2 separate regions of the Homo sapiens genome follow, and region 2 is linked to region 1. Evidence: promoter capture Hi-C in 16 types of primary human blood cells and fetal thymus (Javierre and others, 2016). All regions are on one chromosome and are shown on one strand. Each heading gives the region's core, a stretch centred on a gene start or on the middle of the fragment in contact. The rest is flanking DNA. Distances are from core to core; before and after follow the strand shown.

Region 1 (3,777 bases), core at 524-3,023:
ATCACGCAAGCACGTGACGCGGCAGCTGGCACGCTACACACGACAGCTAGCAGGTGTCACCCCGAGAGCTACAGCCATGCTGCTGCTCCTAGGAACAGGGGGCAGCACAAACAGCCCATGTGGCCAGAAAGGCACCAGTCTCCCTCTCCTCGCTGGTCAGTCTCCAAACAGACCTCAGCCAGCCGCCCCCAGGATGGCACCAGACAAGACAGGTTCTCCATTCGAAGGTTCTTCCAGGATGAAAACTCCTCACAAGACCCTCAGGGCACAAGTGGACAGAGAACCCGGCCTGAGGAACGGGATCCCTCCAAGCCTCTGGAACCCGGCCTCCCCACCGCTCAGACAGCTGCCCCTGCCCTTCCAAGTCGGCAGGCCAGTCCCTCTCTAAAGACAGTTCAAGGGCAGTGCCACAGCCACACCTGTATATTCCTTGGGGGAAGCCGTGTCTCCATTCCTGAAGAACTTGATGGTGGGATAGCCGCGCACGCCGTACTGCTGGGCCAGGTCAGACTCCTCCGTGGCGTCCACCTTGGCCAACCTGATCTCGGAACCTTCTGCCTTCAGCTTCCCAGCGGCTTTGGCATACTCAGGGGCCAGAGCCTTGCAGTGGCCACACCAAGGGGCATCTGGAAGCGGAAATGAGATGCTAGAAAGCAGCCTTGATCCCTAAAGCAGCCTTGATCCCTCAGCAGTGCTTCCCTTTTTCCTCTGGCATTTCCCTTCATAAAAACCTTATCTACTCACCAAGATAACCCCTCCTAACGCACAAGGCTGAGCTGATAGCCTGGTGTTCTTGGGCAATATCAGGACAGAGGCCGTGAACGACAAACTACCACCAACCAACACCAGCCCCCACTCTGCTATGTCACCATCAGCACAGCCAGACAAACCTTTCAATGGTTGCTGACTTCTTATTCCCCACAGGCAACTAAGGCAAGGATCTCCCCTAGACTTTCCCTTTAAGACTACAGACAAAAGTGAAGAAGTGACCGTGGCGGCCTGTACCAGCACTAGCTGTGAGTATGAGATGCACATCCGTGCACACAGACCCTGAGTTGCTTAGGGTGAGAATAAGACGATCTGTCAATAGAGTTAGCAGCTGTGTCAGGCACAAGGTTCCCACCCCAGGGACAGAGCTCAAATCCTTATGGACGTGAGGAAGGCTTGGGATTCTCCTCTGAGACACCATCGGAAGGACTGCTGTGGCAAGCTGAAGGTGGGGTGGGCAGGAGCGGGGCGCCTTCCGGGTCGGCCCCCGGGGAGGACTCGGCAAGGCTGGACACTGGCTTGCTCTGTTTGCTCACACAGGTCGATCCTGTTCTTCTCGCACTAACAGGAAGATCCTGCCGTGCGCAGGGCGGGCATCGGGACGGCCCCCCGGCTCCCAGCCCGGCTCTCACCCCCAGGGAGCCCCTGACATGGCCCCCAAGGCGGGCAGCAAGGGAGCCCTTCAGTTCCGGGCGCGCCGGGGGTCCCGACCCCGGGGGCTGCCGGGCCGTGCCTGCGTCCCAAGAGCCTGGCTCAGCGGCCCCGAGCCCCGCCCGCCCGCCAGGCCCGGCGCTCACAGAACTCCACCAGCAGGTACTTGTGGGCCGCCAGCGCCTCCGCGAAGTTGCTTTTCCGCAGCACCAGGACGTGGTCCTCCTCCTCGGGGGCGTCGGCGCGCACCAGGGCGGCCACGGCCAGGCACAGCAGAGCGCGGCGCAGCATGTCGGACACGGATCAGGCGGGGCGCTTCGGTTGGCGCCGCCGGGACAGCGGGGGCGACGAGAGCGCGCGCCGGTCCCGGCCTCGCCTTTATAAATCCTGGGTCCGGGGCGCGCCTGCCCCCCCGCCCGCGCGCGCTGGCCGCGGCGCGCACGCGCCGCTGGGGCCCGCCTTCGATTGGCCGGCGGACTTCGAGGCTCGTCTTTGCCGCTCTCGGATTGGACACTCACACCAGGCCTGGCCCCGGATTCGGAAACGCTCCTGAGTGCTCCCTGGCCTTCGTTCGGGATTGGCCGAGGACCTCGCGCTCGCTGTCTTTCTTAGCCTCTCATTGGCTCCCGACAAGAACTTTTTCTGCCTTGGCTTCTAATTGGTGGCTTTCGCCTGCACCTTCCACGGGTCTGGAATGGCTGCCCCTTTCGGTAGCACGGACTCTGCGCCTCCTGATTGGCCAAGGGATGCGCGCACTCTGCGCGTTCCTTCGTCGAACGTGGCAGTGGGGAGGAGTTCCCAGTTTAGGGGCGGAGCTGCGGCTGCGCTTCCGAAACCCCTCGTGTTGCATTCTGACTGGACCGCGTACCCAACTGGCACGCCCCCCGGCCCCCGGACCGGAAGTTGGGGTGACGCAATTTCCGGCGCGCGTGTCAAGCGTGCGGCGGCGGCCGTGGAAGGTGGGGTTGGCCGCCTAGGGTCGGCGGTGGGCTCGGTGTGGGATAGCCGGCCCGGTCCGACGCGCTCCGCGAGGTCACGCGAGACACTCACCGAGGCATGGCGGCAGGGCCTGGGCATGGGAATCGTGCGCACAGTGCGAGGAAGCCTCGGAGGGGATACGAGCACAGGGCGGGTGGTTAGGAGAATGGGGCTGGAGAGACGGGCGGGAGGGGCGGGACCTGGGCCCCGGGGACCTGCCGGCTCCCAGGCCCCAGGAAGACGCTGCTCATGCGTGGAGCGGCCGCAGGAAAGGTACTCCCCGCTAAGGCCTTCAGGGAGCGGCCCTTTGCCCTGTGCGATCTCTTCCTTCCTTTCCCACGGGTTGCCAAATCCTGTGACGCTGCCCCTTCTCTGGTGCTTCTCAGATGCTCTGGTCGGCTCAGGAGACCTCGCAGCTGTTACACAGCTGTGGAAATACCCTGGGCGCTGCTTCACTCCGAAGGCAGCAGCTGGGTTTGCCTCCCGACTCGACCCGCCACCGAGGCTCCTGAGCACTTGAAATATGGCCAGTCCACCTGAGACGGGCTGTGAGTGCGCAATGCACATCAAACTTCTAAGACTGAGTGTGCGGGGCCGAGTGCGGTGGCTCACGCCTGTAATCCCAGCACTTTGGAAGGCCGAGGCGGGCGGATCACGAGGTCAGGAGTTCGAGACCAGCCTGATCAACATGGTGAAACCCCCTCACCTCCCGTCTCTACTAAAAATACAAAAATTAACAGGGCCTGGTGGCGCGCGCCTGTAATCCCAGCTACTCGGGAGGCTGAGGCAAGAGAATCGCTTGAACCCAGGAGGCAGAGGTTGCAGTGAGCCGAGATCGCGCCATTGCACTCCAGCCTGGGCAACAGAGCGAGACTCCATCTCAAAAAAAAAAAAAAAAAAGTGTGCGTGTAGGGGCTGGAGGACAGAAGGTACAGTATTTCGTTAATAACTTTACATTGACTACTACATGTTGAAATATTCTGTATGCATATGTTGGATTACATAATAATATTGAGGCCAGGTGCTGTGTGGCTCACTCCTGTAATCCCACCACTTTTGGAGACCGAGGCAGGAGGATCCCTTCAGCCCAGGAGTTCGAGACCAGCCTGGGCAACATAGTGAGACTCCCGTCTCTACAAAAAATAAATTAAAAAAATTAGCCAGGCACGGTGGTGTGCACCTGTGGTCCCAGCTACTTGGGAGGTGGAGGTGGGAGAATCATTTGAGCCCAGGAGGCTGAGGCTGCGGTGAGCCATGATCCCACCACTGCACTCCAGCCTGGGCGACAGATCGACACCCTATCTCAAAAAATAGTAAAAAAATGTCCTTTTTTTAAAATTTTTATTTTTTATTTTTTTGAGACAGAATCTCACTTTGTCA
Region 2 (3,777 bases), core at 873-3,372, 190 kb before region 1:
ACTCCTGACCTCAAGTGATTTCCCCACCTCAGCCTCCCAAAGTGCTGGGATTACAGGTGTGAGCCACTGTGCCTGGCCTTTTTTTTTTTGGAGACAGAATATCGGCTCACTGCAACCTCCACCTTCCAGGTTCAAGCAAGTCTTGTGCCTCAGCCCCCCCAGTAGCTGGGATTACAGGCCTGTGCCACCATGCCCGGCTCGTTTTTGTATTTTTAGTAAAGGCTGGGTTTTGCCATGTTGGCCAGTCTGGTTTCGAACTCTGGCCTCAGGTGATCCGCCCACCTCAGCCTCCCAAAGTGCTGGGATTACAGGTGTGAACCACCATGCCTGGCAATATGCATGTCTTCACATATTTATGAACACAACCACCTGCCTGGCACTGTCCGCCTCCTGTGTTCTACACTCGCCCGGGGTCCTGCGCTTGCGTTCTCAGTGGATGTCATAGGTCTGCCCACGTTTCTTTTTTGAGATGGAGTCTCGCTCAGTCGCCCAGGCTGGAGTGCAGTGGCGCAATCTCGGCTCACTGCAAGCTCCGCCTCCCGGGTTCACGCCATTCTCCTGCCTCAGCCTCCCGAGTAGTTGGGACTACAGGCGCCCACCACCATGCCCAGTTAATTTTTTCTGTGTTTTTAGTAGAGACAGGGTTTCACCGTGTTAGCCAGGATGGTCTGAATCTCCTGACCTTGTGATCTGCCCATCTTGGCCTCCCAAAGTGCTGGGATTACAGGCATGAGCCACCGCGCCCGGCAGGTCTGCCCACGTTTCTCTGTGTAGCTCCACTGGGCTTCTTTCGGCAGCTGTGCAATGGAGTCTGTGGGTGATCAGAGGAGAATTCATTCAACCAGCCACCTAGGGGTGGACATTAGGTTGTTTCTGCTTTCCTTTTTCAGCTGTGCTGCAGTGGACATCTGTGACAGGTGCCATTGGGCTGGGGGGTCACGTCCCCGGGGATGCCGGGCCGGGCATTCTACATCCTCTTCAGCTGCTGTCGTTGGGGTGCTTCCAGCCAGCCTGGTCTTCCCTTCCTGTGGCTTTGGGAGGGGAAATGAGCATGGGTCACCTGCCTGCCACTGTCTGCCTCCTGCCTCCTCTGAGGCCTCCCTTTGTCCTCAGCCCAGGTGACCTTCAGAAAGACATTGGAGAAGGAAGCAAAGGGAGAGGAGCCCGACATCGCAGTCCCCAAGTTCAAACAGAGGAAGGGGGAGTCTGACGGGGCCTATATCCACCGCATGCAGCAAGAGGCCCAGCATGTGCTGTTCCTCAGCAAGAACCAGGCCATCCGGCAGCCAGAGGTGCAGGCAGCTCCCAAGGAGAAGTCTGAGCAGAAAAAAGCAAAAAAAGCGTGAGTGGAGGCGGGAGGGGGAGGGGTCTGCCCTGGGAGCCGGAGGGAAGACATTGGGTTCCCATGACGGCCCTCTGCAGGTACCCTGTTTCATAGCCATGGGGCAGCCTGGATTCAGGGAGACCAAGCCAGAGCCCTGGGAGTTGGCGAGTCGGAGCATCCAGCTGGGAGCCAGTGAGGGTGTGGCCTCCAGGAGGCTGCGGAACCTGGGAACTCTGCGGAGACCTCGCTTGGTCCTTGCTTTCACAGGAAAAGCACCAGAAAGCCCTAGCCCTGTGGGAATCAGCCCTGAGGGGGTCGGTCTGAGGGTGACGTGCCCAGGGGTTCTGTTTCCATTAGAACAGAATGTCTCTCGTCCAAGAGACTACACCTTCCTAATTCTCTAAAAGCTTTGGCCGAGTACAGTGGCTCACGCCTGTAATCCCAGCACTTTGGGAGGCTGAGGCAGGTGGATCACGAGGTCAGGAGATCGAGACCATCCTAGCCAACACGGTGAAACCTTGTCTCTAATAAAATACAAAAAAAAAAATTAGCCGGGCGTGGTGGTGCATGCCTGTAATTCCAGATACTTGGGAGCCTGAGGCAGTGGAATCGCTTGAATCCGGGAGGCAGAGGTTGCAGTGAGCTGAGATCGTGCCGCTGCACTCCAGCCTGGTGACAGAGCGAGACTCCATCTCAAAAAAAAGAAAAAAAAAAAAAAGCTTTGAAGGTTTGAGAGGTTGCTTTCAGCTCTGTAGATTCCCTGTTTCTGGATTGTTGTATTACTTATAGTTACCTTAGCCAGTGAAAGTTCATCACAGAGAACGTGGCCCAGATACAGCCTGGCGCCACGGTGATCTCCAGAGCTGTCGCTGAAGGTGAAGCTTCCAGATTCACATTGAGGGAGACGTGATATACAATGCTTGTTAGGCCCTTTAGACACAGCAGCACCGGATGGGCTGGATGAGTCTCTGTTGGGTGGTCTTTGGCAGCCTTCCCAGCCTTCGTGCACAAGGTGCCAGTAGCCCTTGCCCACGTGTCTGCACACATTGTCAGATGTTCCCTGGCAGGTAGCTGTCCCCAGCTGAGAACCACTGGGGGACCTGTGAGGGGCCTGTTGGGGTCAGAGCCTTCTTTGGTGGGCAGCTGTGGGTTTTGGGGTGGTAAGGGGAGCGGGGACTTGGAGGCAGCCACCTGTTCTTGGGTCCCTGCTCTGCCACAGGGGATCCCTTGTGGGTGGGGCGGCCTCTGCCTCCTCCCTGGGTGGAAAGAGAATTTAGGAATCTGAGTGACATGTGCTTTCTTCCCCAGGTTCCAGAAGCGGCGACTAGATAAAGTCCGACGGAAAAAGGAGGAAAAGGCGGCAGACAGGCTGGAGCAGGAGTTGCTCCGAGGTAGCTCTTCCCAAAGCGATGGTGTCAGCAGTGGTCCGGGTGGGGCCTGGGCGCAGGCCTTCTGTTCCCCACCAGCCCTGGCTGCACTGGGCACCTGTGGTTTCCCCTGGGGTCCACAGCCATTAGACCACTGGATGAGTTGGTGTTCTGTCCCAGCCCTATGGGAGGGAGGTGGGCGGGTGGTGGCTCTGGGTGTCAGGGGTGCAGTGGCTGTGGGCAGCAGTCCTCAGTTGTATTCTGCTCCTCCAGACACGGTGAAGTTTGGTGAGGTTGTCCTGCAGCCCCCAGAGCTGACTGCCAGGCCCCAGAGGAGCGTAAGCAAGGACCAGGTAAGTGGGGCACGGGGACAACTTGAGTTTGTCCCCCAGTGCTGCCAGGGAACAGAAGCCTTGGACAGGCTGGACACGGTGGGTCACACCTGTAATCCCAGCACATTGGGAGGCCAAGGCAGGCGGATTGCTTGAGCCCAGGAGTTGATACCAGCCTGGACAACATAGCGAGATCCTGTGTCAAGAAAAAAAAAAACCCTCAGCCAACGTGTGCGCTGTCTGGTGTGTGGCCTGAGAGTGCAGTGTTCTCGCTGGCGGGAGAGCTGTTGAAGCTGTGAGGCTTTCTGTTGCATCCCCTCCTTTCCCAGCCTGTGCCTCACCCTCCCCTCTCTCCCTCAGCCTGGCAGGAGATCGCAGATGCTGCGGATGCTTCTGAGCCCCGGTGGTGTGTCCCAGCCTCTGACCGCCTCCCTGGCCCGCCAGCGGATTGTGGAGGAGGAGAGAGAGCGGGCCGTGCAGGCCTACAGAGCGTTGAAGCAGCGGCAGCAGCAGCTGCACGGGGAGCGACCCCACCTCACTTCCCGGAAGAAGCCAGAGCCGCAGCTGTGATGGAGAGACACCCGGGGCCTGGCCACGCTCTGGGGCAACTGGCACCAGGAGCTGCTACACCTGGGTAGGAGAGAGGCAGGCCATGCCAGCAGTGTGGGGTGAGGCCTCCAGCTACTTGTTCACACGTTGGGCACTAGTGGGTCCACATCTTGCAGGGGGTGAGTGCCCGATGGACTAGGGCCAA

The links. Contacts are between HindIII fragments. The CHiCAGO score rates a contact against its expected background, and 5 or more counts as called.
Region 2: a contact is called between a fragment that was not itself captured here and the fragment with the promoter of P4HB in region 1, in 3 of 17 cell types (erythroblasts, naive CD4 T cells and activated CD4 T cells). The highest score is 5.6, in erythroblasts.

The regions. Positions count from the first base shown.
Region 1 is chr17:81,858,762-81,862,538 of GRCh38, forward strand. P4HB (prolyl 4-hydroxylase subunit beta) reads right to left here and starts at 1,774. Exons shown (of 11, transcript NM_000918.4): 1 at 1,566-1,774; 2 at 420-626. The coding sequence starts at 1,710. It overlaps LOC124904086 (a long non-coding RNA gene), which reads left to right and starts at 2,349. Exons shown (of 2, transcript XR_007065950.1): 1 at 2,349-2,378. RefSeq lists silencers at 1,365-1,464, 1,675-1,894. The HindIII fragment of the contact is 26,352 bases long and covers 1-3,777 here.
Region 2 is chr17:81,669,112-81,672,888 of GRCh38, forward strand. It overlaps CCDC137 (coiled-coil domain containing 137), which reads left to right. Exons shown (of 6, transcript NM_199287.3): 3 at 1,114-1,342; 4 at 2,633-2,715; 5 at 2,965-3,044; 6 at 3,384-3,777. The coding sequence ends at 3,593. Among named protein-coding and RNA genes, the nearest start is that of CCDC137, 4.3 kb to the left of the region's middle. The HindIII fragment of the contact is 162 bases long and covers 2,042-2,203 here.